7 separate regions of the Homo sapiens genome follow, and all the other regions are linked to region 1. The links are contacts of gene promoters, found by promoter capture Hi-C in human tissues and cell types (Jung and others, 2019). All regions are on one chromosome and are shown on one strand. The core of a region is centred on a gene start or on the middle of the fragment in contact, and the rest is flanking DNA. Distances in the headings are between cores, read along the strand shown. Region 1 holds the start of SNAP25 (synaptosome associated protein 25). Region 2 has its middle 4.5 kb from the start of PARAL1. Region 3 overlaps PARAL1 (PPARG activating RBM14 associated lncRNA 1). Region 4 overlaps MKKS (MKKS centrosomal shuttling protein). Region 5 overlaps MKKS (MKKS centrosomal shuttling protein). Region 6 overlaps ANKEF1 (ankyrin repeat and EF-hand domain containing 1). Region 7 overlaps SNAP25-AS1 (SNAP25 antisense RNA 1).

Region 1 (2,532 bases), core at 17-2,516:
CGCTCCCCAGCCCTCCCTCCCTGCGGAGAGCCCCGCGACAGCCTCCCCAACACCTGTGAATCATCCGGGAGGCTGCCACCGCCGAGCGATCCGCGCACCACCCCCTTCCCGGGCCCGGGCACGGCCAGGGAGGACAGTTAGGGTTGTTGCTTTATAATTATCACTTTTAATCTCTAATACGACCAGCACAAGTAGCCTTTGTCTCCCCGCCCTGATTTGAGCATCCGAGGGCCCCCCGAGGCAGCCTGCACGGGTACCCCGGGGTTTGCGCACTGAGTGAACCCCCAGATTCGGCCGTGTCCCAGCCGTCCTTGCTCTGAATCCCCCACCTCCTCCCGGCCGTTTGGACGGTTCCCTCGGGGCGTCTGTGCCTCCGTGGGGTACCCCTAAGACACCCAGCATGAAACCCCAGCACCGACTGCAAATTCCACCGAAAGCAGAGTCATCCGTTTTTGCCCTCGGCAAACAACTCAACTTCAAGCCTCGAGTCCTTGCAAACCCACGCTGGCTGGGCTAACTCCGCTTCCCTTCTCCTTCCCCCGACTCCTGCAACAGCTCAGAGAGCCTGGCTCTGACGTAGTTCAAAATAACGTGCGCCAGCCTCGCTGCCCGGCTGACCACAGCAACGAGAGCCACAAGCCCTCGACGCTGCTTCGATAACATGAAGCAATCACTCATAAAAATAGCAACCCACGTAGCCTGGCCATATATGGAGCTGGCGAGGGTGGACGGGGATGCCCCTACGGACCCTCTTCGGAGAAAACAAATCGCCGCTGAAATTTCCCCCACCCCTCCCATCACTACCTTTTACCCCTCCTCTGCCTTCCCCTCTCCTTAGATGACTCAACCACAGATTCCACTGAAAGGGGGTGGGGGTGGGGGTGGGGGGGAATATATACACATACACACAAATTATACATATATTATACATGTATTATAAAATATACACACACATACATATATACATACACACACATATACACATATGTACACACACACGCACACACACCAAAGAACATCAGGAATGCAGTTGCGGGATGAACGCGTTTGCCCAAGACCGAGTGTTAAAATGGAGTCATAAGAGTCGCCCCGTGCGGGTGTTTATAGAAGGTGAAAACACGCAGGTTTGCAGGCCAGCGCACTGGGAACCGAGTCAAGCGCGCCGCAGCCCGGGCCCCGCCCCCGCCCCCGCCGTGCCCCGCCCCCACTTCCTCCCGCCCCTCGCTGGGCGGCTATTAAAAGCTGCTGACGTCAAAACGGACGGCCATCTTTGATGAGGGCAGAGCTCACGTTGCATTGAAGACGAAACCTCGGGGAGGTCAGGCGCTGTCTTTCCTTCCCTCCCTGCTCGGCGGCTCCACCACAGTTGCAACCTGCAGAGGCCCGGAGAACACAACCCTCCCGAGAAGCCCAGGTAAGAACCCCCCTCCCCAGGTCGTGGCTCTGGCTCGGGATGGCTGCATACCCAGAAGGGACAGCAGCTGGGCAGTCCGAGTGGGCTTGGGTAAATACAAGTATTGGTGCACTTAGGGTGCGGTATTCCGTGTGTGCACGTCTGGTGGGGGCTTTATAAAGTGTTTTCGAGGTGAGCTGCTGGGGAAAAGGGAAACGGGAGCCCTGCAAATGGAGCGACGGGGAGGAAGAGCGAGGGTACGTACCGAATAATAACTTACTCTTTTGAAACAGTAGTGGGACCCCCTCTTTCTTCCATTTTGCGATGCAGTTTTCAGAGATATTTAGGCTGTTGAGTTTTCCTCCCCTGTCGTTCTAACCCTATTATTATGACTGTTGTCGTTAGGGTGCTATTATCCAGGGAAGAATTAAGGGGGAGACAGGGTGTGGGTGCTGGGGAGGCGAAAGGAGAAAGGGGGAGTTCCCGCCCCGGGCAAGCTGAGCTGCTGCAGCGACAGCAGCCTCCATGCCCCGCGGACTTGATTTATGCCGCCTGCTCCACGTCAACTGCAGGCTGGCGGGAGGCGGGCGGGTCGTGCCGGGTGGGAGGGCTCTGCGGAGGGCTGGCGCGGGTGGGCTGGCTTCGGGGACTGCGGCGGCCCGCGCTCAGCACCCTGGATAGCAACACCGAGGGCTCGCGCGGGCGCCCTCGACCTTTCAGCACCGGGGACAGCGGTCCGGCCGCAGCGCCTCATCTGCCTGCGGCAGAAATGCCTGGCCGGGGCTGGATGTGCCAGGGCTGGAGACCAAATTGTCTCCCTGAGACCCCGGTCTTACGGAGACCCTTAATAGAGGAGTCATAGTAGCTTAAAAGAAAACAAGAAAGAAATAAATCTTCCTCACAGAGACTCCTTTGCAGACAATTTCCTGTTCCCCTCCTCACCTCCTGCATAGCTTCAACAAAATAGTCTACTTGTGGAAATCTTCTGTGTTGCCCTCTGACCCTTATTTTACGTAGAAAATAAATACATTTTTTAAAAAATATGGATTTATCCTCCAGCAGGGTATCAAGGTTTTTGTTTGGTTTTGTTTTTTAACACAGAGTAGATCTGTCTACAGATCTTGGGTGAGCATAAGTAC
Region 2 (2,532 bases), core at 15-2,514, 240 kb before region 1:
AAAAACTCACACAATCATTGCATCATCATTTTTAGAGGTAAAAATAGACATTAAAGTTTATATAACAAGCTATTAAAGATGCAACTGAATTTAAAACCAAGGTATTAATGATTTGTGGCCTGATGGTCTTCCTTGAGTTACATTCCATTTTTCTTCGGATAATTCCTGACTTGCCAAAAATTACATTCCCCTTGAATATAAGTGCCATCTAGACTGGTCTACACAGAGACTGTGGTAGGCTGGTATACCACAGATATTTCTCTGCACTTGACCACAGTGCTATCTGGAATTTCATGCCCACCCATCTCTGTAGGCTTCAGAATAGAGTCAGCCTGCTCTTGCAAGACTCTTCCCAGATACAAGTTCTCATCTGAGAAGTCTATAGTGGCCAGTTTAATGCTGACCTCAAGGAAGAAGGGGAAAGAGAGTGGTCTTCAGACTTTAAGATTCCAGACCTATCTTCACTTTGGCAAGAAAAAGGAAATTACTAGATGATTGCAAGTATAGGCAATATAGCATTCCTGAAAGCAGCTTGCCCAGTCTCCAATATTTTCCCAAGGATACGTAAGCATGATAGGACAGAAGTGTAGAAGTCTCAAATCTTAAGAAAATAAGATATTGCTCTCTTTAGCTAAAGCTTTGCTGAGCTTTCTTGGTTTACTCCTGTTCAAGCAGTTCTTACAGTTTCTATATAGGATGCTTATTGTATCAGTCAGCTTGTGCTGTGTTATGCTACAGTAACCAGACACCCCCTACCTCCAAATCTTAGTAGCTTACAACAAGAAACAGTTTTCTTTCTTTCTCATTTTACATGTCAATCACAGATTGACTTAGGCTCTTTATCTCAAGCCCATGCGGGCTGAATGAGCAGCCCCTACCTGGGACCTACCAGGCCCCTGGCTGTGAGAAGAAAATGATGTGAAACCACAGAGTGGTTCTTAGAGCTTTTGCTCAGAACTGGCTTCTGACATTTCTGACCACATTTCATTGGCCAAAGCAAGCCTGATGTCAATGGGGAAGGAAAGTTTAATCCTTTATAAGGATGGAGAGTCCCCTAATATTGGGAATGATAATACAATGATCAGACTTACTGAATTACATTATATTAGGCATAAGGAGGCTCCTATCTGAATAAATTAATAGGGTGAAAATACAAGCAAGCTGTAGAAGCTTCAACTAACTCTATAAAAGAAATATTCAAGGAGTCTAAGCATTGAAACTCTTTTCTACTTTTCTCAGCAGTGGCACAGTGAAAAAAATTAAAAGTCATTTCAGGGCATGGTAGTTGACTTGAGAGGGCAGGAAACATAGCCCAGGGAGCTGCTGAGCCCAGAGTGGAATTGCTCCTCCTTCAGCAGCTATAAAGCATGGGCCAGGTCGTACAGCTCCTTATTTAGTAACATTGGCAAAAATCCAGGCTTCATTTATAAGTCACTGCATTGCAGTTCTTTTGGAGTACGTTACCAGGACTTCATAAAGATTGATTGAGTTCTGGGAAGCCATTGGGTTGAAAGTCCAGATGTACATAAATCAAGTTATAGCATCATTTAATTCACAATGTATCTGCCCAAGTCATTTTGGGGTGGAAGTGAAAAGATTTATAGTAAGTCTTATGGGATTTGATGATCTGAAAAGTAAGAGATATTAAATGGGTGATTTAGCTGCAAGAGTTAACTGCAGTAGTTTAAAATTGACTCAAGTCTTCATTGCTACTGGTTTAAAATGCATCTTAAATAATTGGAAGTATATTTTGGGAGCTCTTTAGGGTGAAGAGTTAAACGTGATTTTTGGCAGTCAAAAATAAGATCTGATTTATATTCAGAAAAAACTCATCCATCAATAAAATATATGTCAGCAAACTACTTTATATCTTAAAGCACTGTTCTCTACCACACTTAGTTCAGATCTAAAAACTTTTACATAAATCTGTTCTATGATAAGAACCCAAAGTTCTTGAACTTGATAAAAAGAATTTCTGTGATCCTTTTAGTCTTGAGCCACAAATCAATCTACAATTGAAATCACACTTGCTTTTATGTGGAAGGACATGAAAAGCCACAATCCCAATTCATGCCCTCATGGTCTCTCACTAGCCAGGCACCTGGAGATCCAAATCTGTAGAGTAGGTGAAGTTTGCTATAATCTTCTCTGAGCCCAACTGTTCTGTATTGCTTTCTTTTTTTTGAATTCTTTTTTTTTTTTTTCAATGACAGCCTCCCTCTGTCTCCCAGGATAGAGTGCAGTGAGGACTCCAGTGATCTTCCCACCTCAGCCTCCGGAGTAGCTGGGACTACAAGCATGAGCCACCATGCCCGGCTTATTTTTTTATTTTTTATAGAGACCAGGATCTCACTATGTTTCCCAGGCTGGTCTCAAACTCCTGGAATCAAGTGATTCTCCAGCTTTGGCATCCCGAAGTGGTGGGACTACAGGCTCCTGACACCGGGCCTGGCCTTCAATTTCATGATGTTTCTTAATGCCTCAATTCCCCTTTCCTCTTTTCCTATCTTTTAATCTTTTCTATCTTTCCTT
Region 3 (2,532 bases), core at 22-2,521, 220 kb before region 1:
AATACATAAATCAGTAACATATTTATTATTATTATACATTATTATGTACTGCACACAATTGTATGTGCTATGCTTCCATATGACCGACAGCACAGTAGCTTTGTTTACACCAGCATCACCACAAACAACACAAGTAATGCATTGTGCTGTGATGATGTGATGGTTACGATTTCACTAGACGATAGGAATTTTTAAGCTTCATTTTGATCTTATGGGACCACCATCATATATGTGGTTGTTGACTAAAACATTGTTATGCACTTTTGAAATTACATAACTGTAATTTGTCTAGACTACAGTCCCTATATATTCTAGTTTTTTTCTACTGTTTACTTATTTAATTTACTTTGTCTTTAGCTAGTAGTCAGTTGTCATTAAGAATAAAGCAAAAATTTTCATTTATAAACGGCTAATGGCATTCCTACATTAATTCTTGTCCTTAGAGACCATCGACTGAAATAGATTATAATAAATATGATCAATTAGCTAATCATTTAATGAATCATTCGGGACACAATAATTGTTTCAAAATTTCCATTGCATACCACCACCTAATAGATATTGACCACAAAAGAAATATCTCAGGGGAGGGGGGAGAGATAGCATTAGGGGATATACCTAATGCTAAATGACAAGTTAATGGGTGCAGCACACCAGCATGGCACATGTATACATATGTAACTAACCTGCACATTGTGCACATGTACCCTAAAACTTAAAGTATAATAATAATAATCATTAAAAAAGAATGAATTAAAAAAAAGAAATATCTCATTGAATCAAGTAATTTTTTCCTCATTTTTATTATACGTGATAATTATCTCAATAAATATCTCAAGACTTACTAAAATTCAATAAAGTAGCCCTGTTAAAATACTTAGGATTGCTAAAATTCTCCATTTCATTTTATGTGTGAATGGTTTGCTGAAAAGAAAAGAAATAAATGATTGAGACATATATCCTGGATTTATTTTTCATCTTGGATTTTGATCTTTAGCAATTTTATTTAATAACATCTCTGTGAAAACCCATGATTTCATGTCATTGGTAGTTTTGACAAGTTCAAAAGAGCCAATCACAGATTTATTTTATAACAAGATTTAGGCTGGGCGCAATGGCTCATGCCGGTAATCCCAGCACTTTGGGAGGCTGAGGCAGGCAGATCATTTGAGGTCAGGAGTTCAAGACCACCCTGGCCCACATGATGAAATCCCGTCTCTACTAGAAATACAAAAATTAGCTGGGTGTGGTGGCACGTGCCTGTAGTCCCAGCTACTCGGGAGGCTGAGGCAGGAAGATCACTTGAACCCAGGAGGTGGTGGTTGCAGTGAGCTGAGATCACACACCACTGCGCTCCAGCCTGGGTGACAGAGCGAGACTCTGTCTCAAAACAACAACAACAAAAAAAAAAAAAAAAAAAAAACAAGACTATGTTTCTGAAGTAAGCCTGCCAAATTTAGGCAATGTATTTGGAAAGACTTTTTAGTTCTAGGTGTTATATTCTTTACAGCTAGATTCATTTAACTGGAGAGTACTTACAGTATGATCGAGAAAAATAATACAAACATAAATGCTGTGGAATCATGGAACTGTGTTTATATATCACAGATCTCAGAGATATAAATTAATCATTCAATGAGAAATACCATCCCTGAAAATGAACATGACTATAATAAAATCAATGAGCAGCTATATATAAAATCCATCTTTCTTAAACGTATTAGTGTTTTATAAACACTAATATAAAATACAAATGTGAATAAATATAAATTTTCTCCAACAATTTTGTCTTTAGTTTGAAAAGTATAGTCTTTTGCAAAGTTCATAAATTGGTATGTAAACATTTTCAGTTATCCTAGGGTGGAGATCATCTTGAAACTTCAAAGTGAACATATTGACATAGGTCACAGAACAACACATTAATAAGAGCCCCCAAATGAATTGCCACACAGCAGACTTCATTCCATCTTTTTTACATGATGAAATAGTCTTCCTGTTAATGAAAAATGCTCCAGGCCCTGAGAAGGCCTGGGCTGCATGAGTCAAGGAGAGGGTAGCATGAAGACAAAAGGATTCTAATTCCAAGTAGTAGCATATGGAGAGCCCGCTGCCAAAGGGTTTCAGTTCCTCAATCATCTGTGGTCTTGACAATGTGACTGTGCAACTAACTCCTCCCTGCAGAGGATGGTGGCATCTGTTTCTCCACCTTTTGAATCTGGGCTGGCCTTTGGACTTGGCAAGGCCAATAGAGATTTGAGCCTGGGTCTCAAGGGACCTGGCACTTCTGCTCCCTTTCTGTTGGAGTCCTGCCAGCATCTTGGGAACAAGTTCCAGAAGATAGCTAGAGGATGGGAGCACATGAAGAGCAGATCACAACCATCCCTGGGGAGCCCAGCCTGGACCAGCTACAGCCACCCGTCTCCCAAACATGGAGAGAGACCCCCGAGTTTAGCAGAGCTGCATACCTGACCCACAGTGAACCACATATGCATGAGGGAGTCCAGGTGAGATCACAGGAACATCCAGCTGGCC
Region 4 (2,532 bases), core at 25-2,524, 210 kb after region 1:
CTGAGAAGCAGACAGACTGGGAGATCCAATTTGTGAAACAAACTTAAGCTATTTACAGTTTGCCTTGAGATGGTCCTTCCCTCAAAACACTTGGCAAGTTGTTCCAAGAGGCATGGACTGTCTTGTAGAGATTCTGAGTCTAAAACAAAGATTTCTCAAGAATAAGCTCAAAATGATCAGATTTGATGAGCAGTAACTGGTTAATCCCTAAAATAAGTTAGTGTTTGATGCTCATTTATTGAACTTTTCAAGTTTGGAGCAAAGCAACAAGAGAAATGAGATTTTTTCCCTTCCTTACCCTCTAATGTACTTGCCACTGCCCTTTCTTTCTTTCCTGAATCTTCTTTAAACATATTTCTAAAAAAAGACTCCTTTAGAAGGATAGAGAAATCAAGAGACATGAAATGAGATTAGTAAATTTTAGATCAAGTAAAATAGAGTTGATATTTATAGTTTCATTTACTAAAATGTCTTTTGTTAAGTTTAGAAAAAGTTTAGAGGCAATCTTAATGTGGATTATGCTTTTCATATTCTTCTCTCAAAAGTATGGTCTTAAATTATTCAAAAGTTTCATATTTTTCATTTTGTTTTGCTTTCATAGCAACTTTATGAGATCATTTTATAAATGAAGAAACATTAAATGATTGATTCTAAGATTACTGTCAGTTAACTGTGGCATTCAATTTAGATGTGAAGTCTTTAAAGTCTTGCCTAGTACTCTACTAAGCAATTCTTCAAGTCAAGAATTAGTGCCCCAGCTTGGGCAGTACTGTCTATCAGGATTTCCAGTGTGTGATCACGGATGAGGGGAACATTTGGAGGGCGTGAGGCACACCCTTGAGGATCACTGAGGTCAACTAGCTTGGGGCATCATGCCTGGCATGTTGTTCTTTTTTCTTTTTTTGGGACAGTCTCACTCTGTTGCCCAAGGGGGAGCGTAGTGGTGTGATCTCGGCTCACCTCCGCATGCCAGATTTAAGGGATTCTCGTACCTCAGCCTCCCAGGTAGCTGAGATTACAGGCCCACGCCACCATGCCCGACTAATTTTTGTATTTTAGTAGAGACGGGGTTTCACCATGTTGCCCAGGCTGGTCTCAACTCCTGGCCTCAAGTGATATGTCCGCCTCAGCCTCCCAAAGTGCTGGGATTACAGGCATGAGCCATGCACGCCCCGTGGCATGTCCTTGGCTGATTTTCATGTCAGGTATATAAAAGGTTAACAGCTGTCATTTCACTTGTCCAAAATTAGAGGGCATCTTACAGTTCTGGAGGTAAGAAAAACAAAAAAATTAGAGGGCAAAAGAGTCTATATCCTCCAAAAACACATCCGTGACCTACTAATGGTTGAGATTAGCTGGGTTAGTTCAGTTTTCTTTAATTTAGTTCTCAGTATAGAATGACAGCAAGAGATTAATGAACAGAAGAGGGAGAACTTGCTATGCTTCTACCTCATTATAAATACTGTAATCTTTTAGAGTAGCTTAAAGGCCAAGAAAAGAAAACACTGACACACACACACACACACACACACACACACACACACACACACACACACACAAAGTAAGGTTAAGGGCAAAAAGGCAAGCAAGCTTCCTAGAACTTCCCAAACAGCTGGATCTAGCCATCAGATTATTCTATCTAGCATAGTATTAGTTAAAGCCATCAAGTTTTTTTAATTGCTTCCTGCAAAATTAGGCCTAAAATAACTTGGATGCAGGGAATGTTACATCAAATGTTCTCATTTTGCCTATTGGGCTTGCTGGGCGCCATCTGCTGGCCTTTTGGACACAGTGTAAAACGGATTCTTTTTGGTCTTAATTGCTGTTGTGATTTGAAAAAATTGTAATTTTTAAAAACTTCCACTGAATGTAATTTAATCATGAGAAGAACATTAGATAGAATATTAAAAACCAATTAACCCAGCTCTTGTGATAATGAAACTTTATGAAGTTTACTGGAATTGTACTATGCCTTTTCTTTTACAATGACAATGTTGGCTTTAGGTATTTGTGAATTCTTCATTTCTGAATTCTCATCATCAACATTCAAAAGTTATTTTTTATCCTCAATTTTTAATACAGCAGTTTGAATTGTGGCATTTTTTCTGTGTACACAATAGAAAAGACTGCACGTGGTCTTCAACTGTGCTATGAAATGAACTGACATGGTAAACAGAACAATCGTTTTCCTTTTTCTTTTCCAACTATATCACCTAAAATAACACTCATTTTGCTGGACTTCTCCAGTCTTGTAAAAACACACACCCCAAAAACAATACTGTAATTCTTAATGAACCCATGGATCATAATTGAGTTCTAAAGTTTCCATTCTGCAAATCCTACCACCTTCCCCACCAAACCATTCAAGGTCAGCTTGACCTATATCCAAGAGCTGGGCTGCTAACAGCGTAACTGAGTCAGGAGTGGATCTGCAGTCAGAAGGCCGAAACAGGTATGCGTAAGTATCTTATGTCTTTTGCTATTCCTCCCTGCTCATTGCTGTGAATTTAATGTATTTGTAAATAAAAAATA
Region 5 (2,532 bases), core at 15-2,514, 190 kb after region 1:
GACCAGTTGAGTTCTTCCTGGCTATTGTATAATCCACAGCCACACTGTGAAAGCAAATCTGGCCAGTTAGCAACACAGGGAGAATCTGCCTGAACTGACCAAAGGTGTCCATACTTCATGTCAGTGAGAATTTCACCTCCATCATGTTCTAAAGAGCCAACAACAGATTCTAGGGCACTGCAAAATGCTTCAGCAATTAATTGAAGTTCTGTTTGAGTACATTCATCATCTTTGAGAATGCTTTCTGGGTCGTTGTGAGTCTAAAGAGTAATAAAAACATTGAAAACACATACAAAGCAATTAATATAAAATGTTTCAGAAAAATAAGATACTGAAATCAAAATCTTATTCCTAAAGTAATTACTTACTTTCATTTAATTTGGGGTCTGGCACAATGCTAACGGGCTTGTATGGGTCAGCCGGCCGGGTTGCAAACCCTTAACTAGGTTGGTTATAGTAAAAATGTATTAAAAATGTATATACTACCAGTCATGTTACCAGAATGAGTGAATCAGAATAACCCCACCATCAGCTTATTCTGAATGAGGCTTGGTAGTGCCTCCTTAATACATGAAGGACTAGGCATAATACATGTATTACAGGTTTTTCTGCACACAGGAGGAAGTTCCTGAAGACTGATGTCCCAAATGGAGTACTTATTTATCTCTGCAAAATGTTTGAGATTTGCTTAAAATGGGAATGCACATATTTTTATTTGGAAATCATGATGTAAATTTTCATATCAATGTTTTAAAAATGAATATTCTTCTCTTTAAATTAATGAAAAGGTAATAAGACCTTAAACAGTCTTCTGGTTCCACTATTTAAAAATGTTTATCCTAGAAATTCCATGATAAAAAGAAAAATTAATATATAGCCATGCACCACATACCAACACTTCAGTCAATGATAGACTGCATATACAACAGTGGTCCCATAAGATTATAAGGCCATATTTTTACTAACCTTTTCTGTGTGTTGATATGTTTAGATACATAAATACCATTGTGTTACAATTACCTACAGTATTCAGTACAGTAATATGCTGTAAGGGTTTGTAGCCTAGGAGCAATAGGCTATACCACATAGCTTAGGAGTGTGGTAGGCTCTACCATGTAGGTTTGTGCAAGTACACTCTATATTGTTTGCACAACAATATTGTCTAATGATGCATTTCTCAGAATATATCTTTGTTAAGCAACATGTCTGTATTAGCAAACTAATAACTGAATGATGGGTTAAAAAATCCATATCTTAACTGCTTAAAAACAGTGACTACTTTCCTACTCAAGACACCTCCTTCCTCTAAAAAACTTTCTCTAGTTTATCAATTCCATTTCAGAATACATTATTGTCCATTCAGCACCAATAGATTGGCACAAATTTTGTTTTCCATAATGTATATTCTGATAACTTTTCATGAATGTGCTTTATCTTCAAAGAGATTCTAAGTTATTTGGGGAAGGACAGGGCATGTTTACCCAATGAATCGATTGCTAATATCTGGAAAACACCTATACCTTTTTCTATCCATTTTCAAATAAAGTAGGCCAGTACTTATGAAATAATCAGAACAACAATGCACTAAACTTATCTGAGAGCTGTCAGGAAATGGAGTTTCCTAGACCAATCAAAAAATTCTATTTAGTATAATTAATAAATAACATACATAAATACCAATTTTAAAATTATAATAGAATCTAATATGTGAATTGCTTAAATAAATGAAACTTTTCTTGATGCTCTAGAAGATACTGAAGTATTCTGTAGAAACTTGGCCCTTTTGTTTGTGAACATCAATTATTACTGTATTGCAGCAGTTGAGATCTCTAAGAGAACTCCCAATAACAGAATGCTAGCTTCAACATGCAGAACATGTAGACAATACTCAAAGAACGTGATCGCTTGCTTAAATATTTTTATAATAATCATTGTAATAAGGATATTACCTTATATTTACCTTGTTATTTCCCTCAAGTGTTTTTGATTATCTACTTTATTTAGACTACTGAAAAATTCAGTGTTAAAGGCTACAAGTTTACCTGTATAACAAACCTATACATGCACCCCTGAACCTAAAAGTTAAAACTAACAAAAAGACTATAGGATATTATGATTTTGGCTTATTATCTCAGAAAACAAAAGTTGCTGAGAATTCAGGTAATCCGAAGAGGATTATCTTACATACCTTGTGTCTGATATATGCAGCCAAATGAGTTTCAGTACAGCCACCTCCCAACAAAGCCCATGGTTCCTTGAGTGTTAACTGCAGGACATGCAGTGCCGTCTGACACGTGAGCTAAGAAAAAACCCAAATCATCAGAATCAGACGTTCACATCATATTAACACACAAAAAATCATGCTCTCAAAGCATCATAGTGAATACAGAGAGTGTGATTTTAATTACAAAAGAACAAAACTTGTGTGGTGCCAAGGTTGTCATGTGATTAATACATTCTGAATAGTAAGGTTTAGAGATTAAGGGAAGATACTTCAGTCAGAAGTTTGTTTTCACGGAGCCAGATTAGTAT
Region 6 (2,532 bases), core at 16-2,515, 180 kb before region 1:
TCAGGGGCCAGATGTACTTTGAAATGCTAAATCCTGAAAAAACGGTATCCTCTCAAAGCTCTATAGTATACCATTTCCCAAAGTGTGTTCCATGGACCACTGAATTGCCAGGATGTTGAGAAGTACTACAGGCAAAATTGGTTCCACGGTCGCATTCATTAGAGACACATTTTAGGCATTTATCTTTCACATTGTTGGCTCAAAAATGGTGACATTTTCCATATTTATTTGACCACAAAATAATTTTTTTTAATGACATCTTATATGCCTGGAGTTTTGTGGACTAACCTTTGGGAAACACTATAATAGAGAAACGTTTAACTTACTGAGTTTGAAACAGATACAAATCACAAAGAAAAAAGAAATTCTATAGTGTAACAATGTAAAAGTGTAAATTTTTTTTAAAAAATCAAGGTAAAATTGGAAACAAGGTCAAGTAAATACTTGCAGCAAATGCAACAGGCATATGGCTAAAGGAAACAAATCTCATGGGCAGAACTGAAACTATAAAAGGAAACAAATGTAAAATCTTGTTTCACACATAAGCTTGTTAGGATGGCTGCCTGCAGCCCTCACTCTGCATAACCCAAGGTAGTGCCCATTGTACAGAGTACATTGTCTCTTCCCACATCAACAAGGCTCACTCAGCTTGCACATCCCTCAGTTTGGCTGCCAGTGGCCAAAGTGCTTTGCTTATTCCACAGTACCCTCTCTGTCATTGACATCCTATTTTCTGGTGACTCATGTTTGACTCACTGTACATCGTTCCTAAAGGATAAGCAAACATTTAAATGGCTAAGTGGGTCTTTAGGATGTGAGACATGCCCTAGGCCTAAGCGGCACTTTCTCTTGGAACAGTTTTACAGAATATGGAGAAGGTAAAGCTCTAAGCCAATACATTCTTTCTTGTATGTTGTCCTAGGGAATTAATTACAATGTGGAATCATTCTCCTTAAAAGTTAAGCTATAATAGTTCCTTATAGCACCCATTCCCATTCCATTGGTTTTTGCATTTACAGGCATGTGTACTCAGTCCTCAATGCCGTATGCCAGTTCTATGATAAGGTACAATATTTTTCAAACTGTTTTCCCTTCAATTTAGGAATGCTGATTCGTGTTCTTTGTGGCTTAAGGAGTCAGCCCAGATACACTTTAACTGTGTGTTGCACATGCCATCATTATGAAATATTCATTTCATAAGTGGCTCTGGGCCTTTTGTAATGAATTCAGCCTCCTCGGGTATTATGCTTAGGTTGTTTTGCTGTTGCTGTTGTTGTTTTGCTCTGTTCCTGCCTTCTATGTCTTGCTCTTTCTTTGACTTTCTCTTTTCAATAATAACCTTGACAATCTTTTCTTTTTTTTTTTAACTGTTCTGAGTAACCCTACTTTAGGTACATCAGTTTATATAAAATATATTTAGGTTTTGATTTTCATATACATTTTATTTTTTATTTTAATGGTGGAATTTATCCAATTTATAGTTATCTAGATTTCCCATAGGGTTGGTTTCAGAAACATCATTTATTTTATATTGTGAAGGCAAAATATATCTAATATATAAAATACATGTGAAAGTATTGTCATATATGGTCCATAGATTTGTTTTACTTTGCTGTATATGTGTGTTTTTCTTTATATGCTTGTAAGTGTATTTTCTAAAATTGATGGGCTTTTTAGTTATTTTAGTTTTTTTATTTTTTTTTAGTTATTTTAATGGTTAACTTGATACTTCATATGCCCTTAAACCTGTTTATTGAGTTAGCATCTTAAACAGTATTCATTGATTCTTTACTCTGTTTAGTAAGATTAGTACAATAGTATAAATTAGATAAGATTAGTACAATAACCCTTCCTCTTACCTCTGCTACTTCCCTTCTACCACTCAATTTTATACTCAATTATAATTACTTAGTTCTTTCAATGATTCCCTTTTAAATAATAAGTACCTTGTACTTTATTTCCTTACCTGCTTTACATAATATCTCAGTCTTAGCCCTAAAAGATGAGAAGATCAAATACTTATACTATTTCTCCTTCCTTCCCTCAAATTTTTGATAAATTATATTATTTTTACATTATTACAAATTGCAATATATTTTTCTCTATCTAAAATTGCTAAGGTGACTTAGCTTTGGTTCTGTGGCTAAAGAGATTCAGTATTTATGACTGTTCTTTTAGTCACATATTCTCTATTGATCTCTTGGAAAACTCACTTTTGCCATCAAGTAGTTTAAGTCACTTCTTTGGGCTTGTATCCCTGATTACTTATATCCTTAAGACTATACATGTCTGTTGTTTTTACATGAACAAAGTCTTGATTGGGTATAAAAGTTTCCTGTTTTTTTTCCCCAAGTTATAGTGTAGAGATCCTTTGATTATACTGTAGCATTGAATGTTGTTGTGATAAATTTTTGAGGGCAGCTGGACTTTTCCCCTTCATGGATTAGTTGAATTTTTGCCTGGATTCTTATGAGACACTTTCTTTGCCTAGCTTTACCTAGGCATGCCTTGTTGACTGTTCTTAATCAACTT
Region 7 (2,532 bases), core at 23-2,522, 130 kb before region 1:
GCTTTGGCCAGTGACGTATGGGAAAGAGTGAGGATGTACTGTTCTGACCCTACACCCAAAGAAGTGCTATCCCTTTCTGCTCACTCCTCTTGGTTTCTGCCACACCATTCTTCTATTCTAGAAGAATGTGAGACATATGGAACAGAGGCACCCTGGCCAATCAGCAACTCTGTGAGTGTGATCATCAATGCTTATCATTAAACGCCACTGAGATTTGGGGTGGTTTGTTGCGCAGTATGGCTGAGGTAACAGTTGACTAATACACTGGTTATTCAGCTAAGACAGAGAGACGCTCTGAGTGTCTTAACCATAGCAAGTAAAGTTTCCTGTAAGACAAGGCAGAATTTGTAGCCTTCATTGTAGCCATTCCCTGGCCCTTTTTCCTTGCTTTGTATAATTATAGAATCTAAGGAGTGAAATACTCAAGTTCCAGAATTTTTTACAGCTAGGGTGGCCATATGATGCATTTGTAGCCAGTGATACATGTTTTTTTTTTTTTTTTTTTTTTTGCAGGGGACTCCTGGAAATACTTTTGCCGTCATGAAAAAAGCAGACTTTTGTTACTGCTCTTCTCCCTTCTTCCTGCCTTGAAGGCAGTCATGATTCCTGAAACTAATGCAGCCAAGGTGCAGCCAGGAGGGGAGCAGTGTGAGGTTGAAAAATCAACAGCTTAAGGAGGGCAGAGTAGGAAGATGGAAAAGGCATGAGTCTTTGATGATGTTGCTGAGTTAGCTAAACCCCAGTAACAAATGCCTCAGTCTTCTTTTTCTTAGAGCTAAAATTAGTGTCCATTTTGTTTAAGCCCCTATTAGATGGGTGATATCTAATGTGATATCTAAAATTAAATGAATTTCTAACTGATATGCCTAATTTACAGTTTGGCTTGGAACTGGCTTAGTCTGTTTGCATCAGAAAGATGGCATAGTTTCCCCCATTGGGTATTAGAGAAACTAAAATAGAAAGAAACTGAAAGTTTTATGGCCTACTGAGGTCAGAAGGAGGGGAGAGCAGGGAAGCAGCAGTCTCAACCTTTAACAGCAAATCGAAGTCCCCTAGGAATTGAGATGGGGAAGACTTGGAACACCTCTCTTCTCTGTGTCTTGTCCTGTTTACCTATTAAAACCCAACCCATCCATTCCTAGCCTCTTCCATGAAGCTTTCTCAAAATCCAGCCAGAGTGAACCACAGCTTTCTCTGAATATCTAGAGTTGTTTATTGGTTTTGATCTATGTGTGCCCCTCAATTGACACATCACACTTGTCCCTGCATGAGTCCAGCTGTGTAATGTGTCTTATCTTCCCTACAAAGATAACATCTTAATCTCTGCAGAATCTCCTGCAGAACCTAGTAAATACGCAGCATACATCAAGTCTTTAGTAACCAGTAATAACAATTAATTACATAAAATGAATATAAACTTGCTTTATAACAAGCCTATCATCACACCTCTGCTTATGGGTGTATCTGGAAACTTAATTAGGAGTTGGTAGCAAAAACAGTCAGCTATTTCTCTTCTATTGCAGAGGAAATAGATTAGGAGAGAAATGAGAGAGGACAACAGAGAGGAGAAACAAAGAACAGTTCAAAGTCACCTCCAAAGAGACCAGAGTCTCTGTATAATTTATTCCCTCTTGGGAGCATTCCTATCAGTAGTTCTGATGAAAAGAGAGTTAGCAATCTGGCACCGTTTTGCATATTTACACTGTTCCTTAAAATATATGTTGAATCATTTAGACTTTTTAGCTTCCACTTTAGTAAAAAAAAAAAAAAAAAAAAAAAAAGAGGGAAAGTCTAAGCTGGAGAGTGCTAGAACTCATAATTAAGAAGGAGGGGAGTCTTACACTGGTCCCCCAGAAGCAGACACTGAAACAAGGGTTTGAGTCCAGATGGTTTATTTGTGAGGTGACCCCAGGAACCATTGTAGGAAAATGTGGAAATGAGACAGTGAAGGAAAGGAAGCTAACACAGGTGCATTAATGAGTGGGTAATTGGAAATCAGTCCCCACGGAAAGCTCTATGTAGAACACAGCTCCAAATTGTTCCCCATGTGTGATGAGGAGCTGGGATATTTATCTACTAACTCCCATTTGCACTTGGGCCCATTGGGCACTCCTAGACTGCCCCACGCATAACTGATCATGCTCCTGCAGCCAAAGAAAGTCCTTAAGCAGAGAATCCAAGGTGCTTGCAGTAAGAAACCATTGGCATGTGCAGGAATACTGAGTATTGATGATATGTAAATAGGGCATCAATCGTGTCTGCTATATGGGGAAAAGTAAAGGGTAGCAGAGTAGGGGCTGGGGGATGAGAAAGCAAGGAATGAGGAGCACTCACTTGGGGAGGACTGCCAACTGTGTAGCCAGGTCTCAATGAACAAAAGTAGGCATTCTGTTGAAACTGCTGGGGAAGTCTATAATATAATACCTCTACCATTTATCTTAATTGTCTTTAGATATAGAATGCCTTCAAAATCATAAGGGCCAAAACTTATATTTATCAACCTTCCTGTCCCGTATTGAGGGAATAATAGAG

What was found. Contacts are between HindIII fragments. The study calls those that stand out against the background at their distance.
Region 2: a contact is called between a fragment that was not itself captured here and the fragment with the promoter of SNAP25 in region 1, in 4 of the 25 tissues and cell types used here (aorta, dorsolateral prefrontal cortex, hippocampus and 1 more).
Region 3: a contact is called between a fragment that was not itself captured here and the fragment with the promoter of SNAP25 in region 1, in 1 of the 25 tissues and cell types used here (hippocampus).
Region 4: a fragment that was not itself captured here is called in contact with the fragment with the promoter of SNAP25 in region 1 in 1 of the 25 tissues and cell types used here (hippocampus).
Region 5: a contact is called between a fragment that was not itself captured here and the fragment with the promoter of SNAP25 in region 1, in 1 of the 25 tissues and cell types used here (dorsolateral prefrontal cortex).
Region 6: a fragment that was not itself captured here is called in contact with the fragment with the promoter of SNAP25 in region 1 in 1 of the 25 tissues and cell types used here (dorsolateral prefrontal cortex).
Region 7: a contact is called between a fragment that was not itself captured here and the fragment with the promoter of SNAP25 in region 1, in 1 of the 25 tissues and cell types used here (dorsolateral prefrontal cortex).

The regions. Positions count from the first base shown.
Region 1 is chr20:10,217,564-10,220,095 of GRCh38, forward strand. SNAP25 (synaptosome associated protein 25) reads left to right here and starts at 1,267. Exons shown (of 8, transcript NM_130811.4): 1 at 1,267-1,414. It overlaps SNAP25-AS1 (SNAP25 antisense RNA 1), which reads right to left and starts at 1,943. Exons shown (of 5, transcript NR_040710.1): 1 at 1,674-1,943. The HindIII fragment of the contact is 5,357 bases long and covers 1-2,532 here.
Region 2 is chr20:9,980,570-9,983,101 of GRCh38, forward strand. No RefSeq gene overlaps it. Among named protein-coding and RNA genes, the nearest start is that of PARAL1, 4.5 kb to the right of the region's middle. The HindIII fragment of the contact is 5,770 bases long and covers 1-2,532 here.
Region 3 is chr20:9,997,679-10,000,210 of GRCh38, forward strand. The region is part of intron 1 of PARAL1 (PPARG activating RBM14 associated lncRNA 1); the gene reads left to right. Among named protein-coding and RNA genes, the nearest start is that of PARAL1, 13 kb to the left of the region's middle. The HindIII fragment of the contact is 3,336 bases long and covers 1-2,532 here.
Region 4 is chr20:10,425,522-10,428,053 of GRCh38, forward strand. All of the region lies in intron 1 of MKKS (MKKS centrosomal shuttling protein), which reads right to left. All of the region lies in intron 1 of LOC128706665, which reads right to left. The region is part of intron 1 of LOC128706666; the gene reads right to left. Among named protein-coding and RNA genes, the nearest start is that of MKKS, 7.4 kb to the right of the region's middle. The HindIII fragment of the contact is 7,518 bases long and covers 1-2,532 here.
Region 5 is chr20:10,405,428-10,407,959 of GRCh38, forward strand. MKKS (MKKS centrosomal shuttling protein) reads right to left here. Exons shown (of 6, transcript NM_170784.3): 5 at 2,189-2,299; 6 at 1-260. Among named protein-coding and RNA genes, the nearest start is that of MKKS, 28 kb to the right of the region's middle. The HindIII fragment of the contact is 5,196 bases long and covers 1-2,532 here.
Region 6 is chr20:10,039,606-10,042,137 of GRCh38, forward strand. The region is part of intron 3 of ANKEF1 (ankyrin repeat and EF-hand domain containing 1); the gene reads left to right. All of the region lies in intron 3 of SNAP25-AS1 (SNAP25 antisense RNA 1), which reads right to left. Among named protein-coding and RNA genes, the nearest start is that of ANKEF1, 5.9 kb to the left of the region's middle. The HindIII fragment of the contact is 3,991 bases long and covers 1-2,532 here.
Region 7 is chr20:10,084,646-10,087,177 of GRCh38, forward strand. The region is part of intron 3 of SNAP25-AS1 (SNAP25 antisense RNA 1); the gene reads right to left. Among named protein-coding and RNA genes, the nearest start is that of ANKEF1, 51 kb to the left of the region's middle. The HindIII fragment of the contact is 3,434 bases long and covers 1-2,532 here.